Regions from separate parts of the Homo sapiens genome. Here region 2 is linked to region 1. The links are contacts of gene promoters, found by promoter capture Hi-C in human tissues and cell types (Jung and others, 2019). All regions are on one chromosome and are shown on one strand. The core of a region is centred on a gene start or on the middle of the fragment in contact, and the rest is flanking DNA. Distances in the headings are between cores, read along the strand shown.

Region 1 (5,905 bases), core at 3,232-5,731:
GGAGTCTCACTTCTGTCATCCAGGCTGGAGTGCAGTGACTCAATCTCGGCTCACTGCAACCTCCCTCCACCTCCTGGGTTCATGCCATTCTCCTGCCTCAGCCTCCCGAGTAGCTGGGACCACAGGCACCCGCCACGATGCCTGGCTAATTTTTTTGTTTTTGTAGTTTTAGTAGAGACGGGATTTTGGTTTTTTTTTGAGACGAAGTCTCACTCTGTCACCCACGTCACCCAGGATGGAATGTAGTGGCGCAATTTTGACTCACCTCCACCTACTGGGTTCAAGCAATTCTACTGCCTCAGCCTCCCAGGTAGCTGGGATTACAGGCACCCACCACAACGCCTGGCTAATTTTTGTATTTTTAGTAGAAATGGGGTTTCACCATGTTGGCCAGGCTGGTCTCGAACTCCTGACTTCAAGTGATCCGCCCTCCTCGGCCTCCCAAAGTGCTGGGATTACAAGCGTGAGCCACTGCCCGGCCAAAAAAAAAAAAAAAAAAATATATATATATATATATATATATATATATATTTTTTTTTTTTTTTTTTTTTTTGAGGTGGAGTTTCGCTCTTGTGCAATGGCGCGATCTCGGCTCACCGCAACCTCCACCTCCTGGGTTCAAGCAATTCTCCTGCCTCAGCCTCACAAGTAGCTGGGATTACAGGCATGTGCCACCACGCCCATGCCTGGTTTTGTTATTTTGTATTTTTAGTAGAGACGGGGTTTCTCCATGTTGGTCAGGCTGGTCTCAAACTCCTGACCTCAGGTGATCTGCCCGCCTTGGCCTCCCAAAGTGCTGGGATTACAGGCATGAGCCACCCCACCTCGCCAAAAGAAAGTTTTTTTTAACTGCAAGCAAAGAGACATGGCAGAAGCCAGGGCTTAGGAGGGTTGAAGGTTGGGGCATCCTATCTAACTTCCAGGCCAGAGCTGTCTGAAGGAATCCTGATGAGCCCCAAATGCAAGCTTCATTTGTCACTTTAAATTTATCAGTAGCCACATTTTAAAGAGTAAAAAGCAACAGGTCAAAATTTAAAATATGCCTGTAACCCCGGATCATGAGGTCAGGAGTTCGAGATCAGCCTGACCAACATGGTGAAACCTCATCTCTACTAAAAATACAAAAATTAGCCGGGTGTGGTGGCGCGCGCCTGTAGTCCCAGCTACTCGGGAGGCTGAAGTAGGAGAATCACTTGAACCTGGGAGGTGGAGGTTGCAGTGGGCCGAGATTGTGCCACTGCACTCCAGCCTGGGCGACAGAGCAAGACTCTGTCTCAAAAAGAAAAAAACTAAAACTAAAAATACATTTCATTTAATTCAACATATCCAAAATATTTCAATATGTAATCAATAGAAAAATTAATGAGATGCTTTACATTCTTTTTTTCTTTTTTTTTTTTTTTTTTTAGATCGAGTTTCGCTCTGTCTCCTATGCTGGAGTGCAGTGGCGCGATCTCGGCTCACTGCAATCTCCGCCTCCAAGATTCAAGTGATTCTTCTGCCTCAGCCTCCCGAGTAGCTGGGATTACAGGCACGCGCCACTACGCCCAGCTAATTTTTGTATTTTTAGTAGAGACGAGGTTTCACCATGTTGGTCAGGCTGGTCTTGAACTCCTGACCTCGTGATCCGCCCACCTTGGCCCCCCAAAGTGCTGGGATTACAGGCATGAGCCACCGCAGCTGGTCGTTTTACATTCTTTTTCCATAGTACGTCTTTGAAATCTGGTGTGAATTTTGCACATATAACACATCTCACTTCGGTCCGGGCACCTTCAAATGCGCTACAGCCACACACAGCAGGAGTTGTGGTTGCAGAAACGGACGCTGAGGGTCTTGACCCAGGCAGTCAGCCCCATCTTGACCTTTTAGATAAAGGGCTCCTTTCTCTCCAAAGGGTGAGGCCAGAGGTGAAGCACAAAGACAGCCATGCCTCACTCTGTGTCCCTGTCCTTTCTCCTGTTTTCTTCTGGGGCCAGGGTTGCTGCCATCTGACAGGAGCATCCCACGTGAGAGGACGCCTCAGGACTCAGGGTGTTCCTGCCTGCCGCCTGGCAGCCCTTATCAGAGGAGCGGGGCCTGATTTGATCCAGCATGAGAAGATCACGCCAGGAAGTCAGCTCTTGTTTTTCTTGCAGTAAATCAGTTAGCCCTTAATCTCCGGGGCGTGTGAGGGCCCCCTGCAGTGCTCATTTCCTTCCTGGAGGGCTTCTGAAGAGGGGAGGAAGCTCGAGTGTTCCAGACCTCAGACTCGCTGCCCTCCGCCCAGGGCACCTCCCCCTGCACAGCTCAGGGGCCTCACCCGGCTGCTCTCTGTCTGGAGTCTGGACACCTCTCCCCAGGGCCCCACTTCCAATGACTGCCACCTCCCAGGGAGGGGCCAAGCTCAAAGGTGAAGCAGGCGGGCTCAGTGGCTGATGCCTGTAATCCCAGCACTTTGGGAGGCTGAGGTGGGCGAATCACCTGAGGTCAGGAGTTCGAGACCAGCCTGGCCAACGTGGTGAAACCCTGTCTCTACTAAAAATACAAAAAATTAGTCGCGCGTGGTGGCGGGCGCCTGTAATCCCAGCTACTCGGGAGGCTGAGACAGGAGAATCACTTGAACCTGGGAGGCAGGGGTTGCAGTGAGCCGAGATGGCGCCACTGCACTCCAGCCTGGGAGACAGAGCGAGACTCAGTCTCAAAAAAAAAAGAAAGAAAAGAAAAAGGCGAGTCAGGGAGGCCAGGGGTGAGGCTGGCGTTGGCCCCCGTAGTCATTCACACAAACGGCTCCTTTCTGAAGACAGCTGATTGCAGGTGTGCAATGAGTGGCTAGAAGACAAGTGTCACCAGGAATAAAGTGGGAGCAGGCTGGGGCAGAGGCTGAGTGGCCAGTCATCCCTGGTGCCATCTCACTCAAGACACGGGCTGGGAGCCAAGGACACTGGAGACCTCTTTGTTTCCTCATTGCTGTCAGGGGCTGCCACTGCCCTCCCCACCCCTACTGCCCCTGTCAGCTCCTCCACCTCTAGGAATGGGGGTGTCCTGCATCCCCTCTCCACGGCCGAGTTCAGGGACTTCCCATGAAATTCAGCCAAAAAGGGCGCAGGACTTTTCTATCCCATGGGGGCCTGAGGCCAGTATCAGGCGTCGGTCCCTGGTCTCCCCCGTCTGCTGGGATCTTTCTCTCCTGCCAGGCTGTGCTTTGTCCTCAGCGAGGCCTGCCAGGATGTCCAGGTGATGTCACCCAGTCAGTCTGTTCCATCCCCTGGCTCCCCCTCAAGCCCTCCTTCCACTAAAACCACGGGGGTTTCAGGAATGACCTGGAAAGCGACGCCACCCCGCAGAAGGGGCCTGTTACGCTGGGCCAGTGAAATGAGCGCCTGGAAAGGGGGGTGCCATCGCCTCTTTCTTGAAGACGCTCAGGGCCACCACAGAAGGAAAAGGCAGCAGCCCTGGTACCCAGTGTGAGGAAAAGACCAATAAGCTGGCATCACTGTCTGCCACTCAATCTGACTTCATAAAAGCCACCAGGGGCCATTTCTGGGTGGGGGAAGAGGCAGGTAGGAAAAGCCAAGTGCATCAGGCTCCCGGGCCTCAGCCAGAGCCCAGGCTTACTGGCGCCTGAAGCCAGCCCTGGTGCTGCTGCACTGTGCACACTTTATAAAATGGGGCCAGGCGTGGTGGCTCATGCCTGTGATCCCAGCATTTTGGGAGGCCGAGGCGGGTGGATCACTTGAGGTCAGGAGTTCGAGACCAGCCTGGCCAACATGGTGAAGCCCCTTCTCTGCTAAAAATACAAAAATTTTCTGGGCGTGGTGACGGGCACCTGTAATCCCAGCTACTCAGGAGGCTGAGGCAGGAGAATCGCTTGAACCCGGGAGGTAGAGGTTGCAGTGAGCCGAGATCATGCCATTGCACTCCAGCCTGGGTGACAGAGCGAGACTTTGTCTCTTAAAAAAAAAAAAAATGGACCTTGTGCCAGTTGTCTGGAGTGAACGTCCCCTGACTGCCCCATCATGTCAGTGGAGAACAGAGAGTCAGGCCCTGGGCTGGCAGGACACCCCCTCCTCTCCTGGGGGATTGAGAGCTGTGGGTGGGGGCCTGCCTGGCAGCAGGTCCTCTGAGCTGGCTGGAGGTGTTTATTAATCCTGAGCTCCGGGGCTGGGGCCTCTCCGCTGAGCCTGCACCTGCATGTGCACGTCTGTCTCCAGCCCTGTCTGTCCTGGCCCAACTCCTTCCCTATCTGGGTGTGATCGCCGCTGCGCTCCCCTAGGCATGTGGGTGTAACAAGTCCAAACCTTCTGTGGGAGTCGGGCAGGCTCGGCCCCGCCCTCAGGGCTGTGCCCTTTCCTCCCAGACTGGTTGTGCAGGAGGAGGCATGAGTGTGGCCGTTGTGGGTGCATGCGCGTCAGGCCTGGGACCCGGCCGCCCGCCCGCTGCCTCACCTGCAAGGAGGGGCCTCCCAGAAACTCCCTTCCCCAGTGCCCAGCCGCCCCACCTCGCCAGACTTAGCTGACCAGCCAGTGAGGACGCCCGCTGCCTCCCACCTGCCCTCCTGCCGTCTTTCGCCAGCCAAGCCCAGCCTGAGCCAGCACTTGCCTTTACGACCATGTTCAAGGGGCTGAGCAAAGGCTCCCAGGGGAAGGGGTCCCCCAAGGGCTCCCCCGCCAAGGGGTCCCCCAAAGGCTCCCCCAGCAGGCACAGCCGGTAAGTGGGACTGGGGGATGGGGAGCCGGGGAACTGGGGTGGGGGTGGTGCCAGGCCCAGGTCCTTGAGCCACCTGGCGGCGGCGGCGGCCCAGAGCCCAGGACCAGCCCCGTGCTGGCATTTGGTGTCCTGAGGCCAAAGGGCCCAGGGATGGACTCTCTCCCTGCCTTGGGAGCCGCAGGCCCAGGCCGAACTTCAGCCCTGGCAGGAGGCAGGGGATGACCTGGGGCTCCCTACATCCTCTAAGGGGGCCTGAGGGCCACGGATTGAGGCCGCTTCGCGGGAGAAGTGCTGGACAGGAGCCTGCACGGAGGCCCTCCTCTGCCAGAGGCTGGGAGACAGGAGAGCCTGGGAGACAGGAGAGCCTGGGAGACAGGAGAGCCTGGCTGCCTGACTGCAGCTCTGCCCCAAGGCTCTACTTGGCTGGGATGACCCCTGGAGCCTGGGTACAGGGCATGAGGACTGAGGGGACGGGGTGGGATCCCTGGGGTAGGGATGCAGGGGCTGTGCTGCCTCCTGCCTAAGCCACAGCCCTCCCCAGAGTTCTCACCCAGGGCCTTGTTGTATTGAAGAGTTAGGGGTTCATGGCCGGGCGCCGTGGCTCACGCCTATAATCCCCGAACTTCAGGAGGCCAATGCGGGAGGATTCCTTGAGCCCAGGAGCTCGAGACCAGCCTGGACAACATAGGGAGATCTTGTTTCTGTAAAAAAATAAAAATAAAAAATAGCCAGGCATGGTGGCTCGTGCCTATTGCTTGAGCCCAGGAGTTTGAGGCTGCAGTGAGCCATGATCACACCCCTGCGCTCCCGCCTGGGTGACAGACTGAGACTCTGTCTTAAAAAAAAAAAAAAAAAAAATCCTGGCGCAATACCTCACGCCTGCAATCCTACAACTTTGGGAGGCCGAGGCGGGTAGATCACTTGAGCCCGGGAGTTCGAGACCAGCCTGGGCAACATGATGAAATCCCGTCTCTACAAAAAATATACAAAAATTATCTGGATGTAGTGGCGCATGCCTGTAGTCAGAGCTACTTGGGAGGCTGAGGTGAGAGGATCACTTGAGCCCGGGAAGTCGAGGCTGCAGTGAGCCGTGATCACTCCACTGCCCTCTAGCCTGGGTGACAGAGCAAGACCCTGTCTGTTAAAACAAAATAGAGCTGGGGCTTCCTTTTCCAGTGGGTGTGGTGCAGGGGGCACTGGGCCTCCCTTGGACCACCCG
Region 2 (5,164 bases), core at 585-3,084, 180 kb before region 1:
ATTTTACAATATCACAGTGTATGTATATGCCGATACCTGTAGCTGAGATTCTTCAATACATGGAATAACTACTTCAAGTTTAAAGGCAAAAGTCAGGAACCAAAAAATATATATGATCATTAATGTGCATTGTAGAACCTTTTGGTCTTTTGGCTGGAGGTATTTTAAACAGATCATTAGAAGAATTCAGTTAAGAATGTTAAAAGGAAAACAGTGATCTAGTCTACGTTTGGTATCTGGGGTTTTCCCTGCTATGATTTTACTTATTTTGTGCCATTGTCCCAAATCAGGAAAAGAAAACACTCTGGGATTAGAAATTGCTCTAATTATTCATTCAGAGGGTTAACTTTTTTGTTTTTGTTTTTTTGAAACAGAGTCTCACTCTGTCGCCCAGACTGGAGTGTAGTGCTAGGATCTCGGCTCACTGCACTTCTGTTTCCTGGGTTCAAGCCATCCTCCTGCCTCAGCTTCCTGAGTAGCTGGGACTACAGGCATGTGCCACCACACCCGGCTAATTTTTACATTTTTAGTAGAGACAGGGTTTTGCCATGTTGGCCAGGCTGGTCTCGAACTCCTTATCTCAGGCGATCTGTCTGCCTCAGCCTCCCAAAGTGCTGGGATTACAGGTGTGAGCCACCACGCACAGCCCAAAAGGTTAACATTTTAAAAATCAGCTTTTTTTTTTTACTAGATTTAGGTTGACTGTTTTCTGCTTGTTTGATTTTTTTTGTTTGTTCCTCTCTAGGAAGCTATTTTGCCAGCCACTTCATTATGGGAGGAGAGAAGTTTGACTCAACTCATCCTGAAGGTTACCTGTTTGGAGAGAACAGCGATCTGAACTTTCTGGGGAACAGACCAGTTGTGGTATGGCTGTAATCAGTTTACTCCTACTTGGAGCTTAAGTGGCCAATTCAAAAAATGTAACAAAAATAAGTTTGCAGTTGCTTGTTCAGCAGTTTGTAGCTTGGTCTGAGTTGAGAGAGATGCACTAGAAGACAAACTGCAGCCTCCTTGGTTGTATGGGATCTCTTGTTGCTAGAGGACTGGAAGAGCTCCTGGAGTCTTGTGAGGGAGAGGATGAGTCTCACAAATTAAGCTAGGACAGATCTCTCCCTGTCACCTCTTTAGGCAACCCTTTTCCAAGGGCTTACCTTTTTTTTTTTTCTTCATGGCACTTAACACCAACCTTTTATTGATTTGTCTCTTTCTCTGCTTATTGTCTGCCTCCTCCTCTAGAACGTAAGTTTCATAAGGCAAGGACTGTTTTTACTGTAGTATCCCAAACCTAGAACAAAGCCTGGCACGTAATGTTAAGCCCTTAATAAATGATTGTTGAATGAATGACTGAAAATTTTTCTCTTGATATATGAGTTGATATGAGAATACATTTCTCTCACTTGTTCCTTCTCATAAATTTCTATTGCGCACCTTCTCTGCATCATGCAGGAGGCTTTGTAATAATAGCCGCCAGGTGGCTATTGAGTGGCTACCGTGTGCTAGGAAGGTCCTAGAGACCCCTGTTCCATATGAAGACCACTTGACTTAGGACTTATCACTCTATTTTATAAGCGAGAGAACTGAGGTGTTCAGAGAGATGAATAATGACAGAAGCTAGGAAGTGCACACTATGTTCTAAGCACTGTTCTAAGGGTTTTATATACATTTTTCTCAAAGTCATGTAACTAGGTTTGCCTGGTCACAGATCAGTAATCTTTCCAGTGCTCCTCACTGCCTTGAAATATTCTGCAAGTTTGGTGGAGCAGACAAAACACAGAAAACAGGAAATGTTTAATTAACAATAAAGATCAGAAGTGATTGAATGTGGTGGGAATTGAGAGTGGGAGAAGACAATGGCAAGGGCAGGTTGCTTCAGTGTTACACTGGGAAGAGGTGCAGGGAGTTGAACTGGCCTTTGAAGAATGGTGGGTTGGATGAGGCCTTTCCAGGAGTAGAGCACGGCACAGGCCTAAGAGCATTCAAGTTGTTGAATTGGCAAACATTTACTGAGCAACTACTGCGTGTCAGGTACTGTGATAGGCGCTGTGGATACAGAGCTGAAATGAGCATGGTTTGTTCTTCCCTGGAACAAATAAGGAAACCAGTCTGGCCCGATTGGAAAGGTGGGCCAGGCACAGTGGCCAACACCTGTAATCCCAGCACTTTGGGAGGCCGAGGTGGACAGATCACCTGAGGTTGGGAGCTCAAGACCAGCCTGGCCAACATGGTGAAACCCTATCTCTATTAAAAACACAAAAATTAGCCCGGGGTGGTGGCACACCCCTATAATCCCAGCTGCTCCAGAGACTGAAGCAGGAGAATCGCTTGAACCCGGGAAGTGGAGGTTGCAGTGAGCTGAGGTTGCCCCAGTGCGCTCCAGCCTAGGGGATAGAATGAGACTCTGTTTCAAAAAAAAGAGAAAGGTAGGTGGCGGCTGTGTTACCTTGATAGGTTTTTTACTCTCTCCTGTAGACCGTGAGGAATATTTAAGACTTGTAGGTAGGTGAGTGACCTGGAGAAATTGCTTTTTTAGGAAGATTGATCTGATGATGGTCTTCCATCTTGACCTTTAACATAAAAATAATTATTTTTTTGGTTTTCATTGTTCTCTTTCTTTCTTTCTTTCTTTTTTTTTTTTTTTTGGACGGAGTCTGGCTCTGTCGCCCAGGCTGGAGTACAGTGGCACGATCTTGGCTCACTGAAAGCTCTGCCTCCCGGGTTCACGCCATTCTCCTGCCTCAGCCTCCTGAGTAGCTGGGACTACAGGCACCCGCCACTACACCCGGCTAATTTTTTGTATTTTTAGTAGAGACGGGGTTTCACTGTGTTAGCCAGGATGGTCTCGATCTGACCTCGTGATCCGCCCACCTTGGCCTCCCAAAGTGCTGGGATTACAGGCATGAGCCACTGCGCCCGGCGGGTTCTCTTCCTTTCTATCTGGAGTGACCCCTCTGCTAATTTTTCGTCCAGTAGTACACTTTTCAAAATACCAAATCTTGTCTGCTTCAAGTTAAGTTATGTCAAGTAATACTTATCAGATGTCTACTCTTTGATTTTGTTACTACTGCCTTGGTAATTAGAGTAGACAGATCTTTCTTTTTTTCTGATAGAGCCAGATAAAAATGTTGCCTCACTCACAGGGAGTCAGCTTGTGCTTTGAAAGTAGCCCTTTCTGCTGGGCACGGTGACTCATGTCTGTAATCCCAGCACTCTGGGAGGCCGAGGCGGGCGGATCACAAGGTCAAGAGATCGAGACCATCCTGACCAATGTGGTGAAACCCCATCTCTACTAAAAATACAAAAATTAGCTGGGCGTGGTGGTGTGAGCCTGTAGTCCCAGCTACTCAGGAGGCTGAGGCAGGAGAATCGCTTGAACCCAGGAGGCGGAGGTTGCAGTAAGCCAAGATCATTCCACTGCACTCCAGCCTGGGCGACAGAGTGAGACTCCGTCTCAAAAAAACAAAAACAAAAATGAAAGTAGCCGTTTCTTCTATTAATAACATGGACTTGATGTTTGCATCTGTTTCTGTCTTTTTCCTTTCATCTGATGTAAAGATAGTTTATATATTTTTAAAAAAATTTTGGCCTTTTCAGTCCATAAAGATGATATAAAAATAAGTAAATCAGGGATGTCCAATCTTTTGGGTTCCCTGGGCCACATTGGAAGAAGAAGAATTGTCACATTGGGCCACACACGGAATACACTAGCAGTAACGATAGCTGATGAGCTAAAAAAGAAAAAAAAAAACGCAAAAAAATCTTACAATGTTTTAAGAAAGTTTACGAGTTTCTGTTGGGCCACATTAAAAGCCATCTACCCCTGGGCCGCAGGTTGGACAAGCTTGAAGTAAATGCTGCTTTAGGTTCAACTTGAAGTTTATGCTGGCTGGCAGACTTTTCCTAAGTTTGCCTATGCCGACCTATGAATGACTGAGCTCTTTCTGAAATGCTAGGTAGCAGCCTTAACCTTAAAGTTGAGGCTTTTTCCCAAAGAAGATCAAGCTGGGCACAGTGGCATGTGCCTGTGGTCCCAGCTACTCAGGAGGCTGAGGCTGAGATGGGAGGATCACCTGAGCCCAGGAGAATTCGAGTCCAGTTTGAGCAATATAGCAAGACCTCCATCTTAATCAATCAATCAATAAATGCCACTTAAAAAAAAAAAGAACATCAACATTGGAGTTTTTGTTGTTGCTTTTATGTAGTAATCATTAAGTATGCTTAATGTTACACATAGCAAATGAATTTTTTTTTTTTTTTGAGGCAGAGTCTCACTCTGTCACCCAAGCTGGAGTGCAGTGGCACGATCTTGGCTTACTGCAGCCACAGTCTCCTAGGCTCAAGTGATTCTCCTGCCTCAGCCTCCTGACTAGCTGGGATTACAGGTGCCTGCCACCACACCTGGCTAATTTTTGTGTTTTTTTAGTAGAGATGGGGTTTCACCATGTTGGACAGGTTGGTCTTGAACTCCTGATCTCAGGTGATCTGCCCATCTCGGCCTCCCAAAGTGCTGGGATTACAGGTGTGAGCCACCGCGCTGGCAAATGTTTTTAAAAGACATAATTTTATATTAGGAAAGCAAATCAGAGTAACTTCATATAGCTGCATAAAAATGTAGTATAGAGAATAAATGCCACATGTTTCTCTTTTTCTTTTCCCCACAGGTTATTTGATAATAATAATGATGGCTAACATTTGAACACCTAGTTTTTGCCAGGGCTGATTGTTCTAAGCTTTTCATCTGTGTTGTCTCATTTTGTCCTCACATCATGATGAAAAAGGTCCTCATTCAACAGGTGAAGAACATGTGGCACAGAGAGTTTAAAGACTGCACAGCCTGTAAGGGATCAGGATTGGAACCTAACAGTCTGGCTCCAGAGCCTGAACCATGCTGCCATTTTTGCTAATTAGGCCAGGTGTACTCAGAAACTCTGCCCACATCCTGTTTGTGAGTCCATTGTGTAGATCTTCAAGTGCAATTTCTGAAATATTGGTATCTGAAAGTGGAATGAGGCCAGCACAGTGGCTCATGCCTGTAGTCCCAGCTGCTCAGGAGGCCGAGGCCTATAGATCTCTTGAGCCTAGAAATTGAAAACCAGCCTGGGCAACATAGCGAGACCCTCATCTCTACAAAATATAAAATGATAAAAATTAGCCAGGCGTGGTGGTG

Evidence for each region. Contacts are between HindIII fragments. The study calls those that stand out against the background at their distance.
Region 2: a contact is called between a fragment that was not itself captured here and the fragment with the promoter of EVPL in region 1, in 1 of the 25 tissues and cell types used here (psoas muscle).

The regions. Positions count from the first base shown.
Region 1 is chr17:76,025,882-76,031,786 of GRCh38, reverse strand. EVPL (envoplakin) reads left to right here and starts at 4,481. Exons shown (of 22, transcript NM_001988.4): 1 at 4,481-4,686. The coding sequence starts at 4,589. RefSeq lists an enhancer at 4,012-4,899. The HindIII fragment of the contact is 23,388 bases long and covers 1-5,905 here.
Region 2 is chr17:76,208,064-76,213,227 of GRCh38, reverse strand. It overlaps RNF157 (ring finger protein 157), which reads left to right. Exons shown (of 19, transcript NM_052916.3): 2 at 746-864. Among named protein-coding and RNA genes, the nearest start is that of RNF157, 30 kb to the left of the region's middle. The HindIII fragment of the contact is 4,899 bases long and covers 1-4,283 here.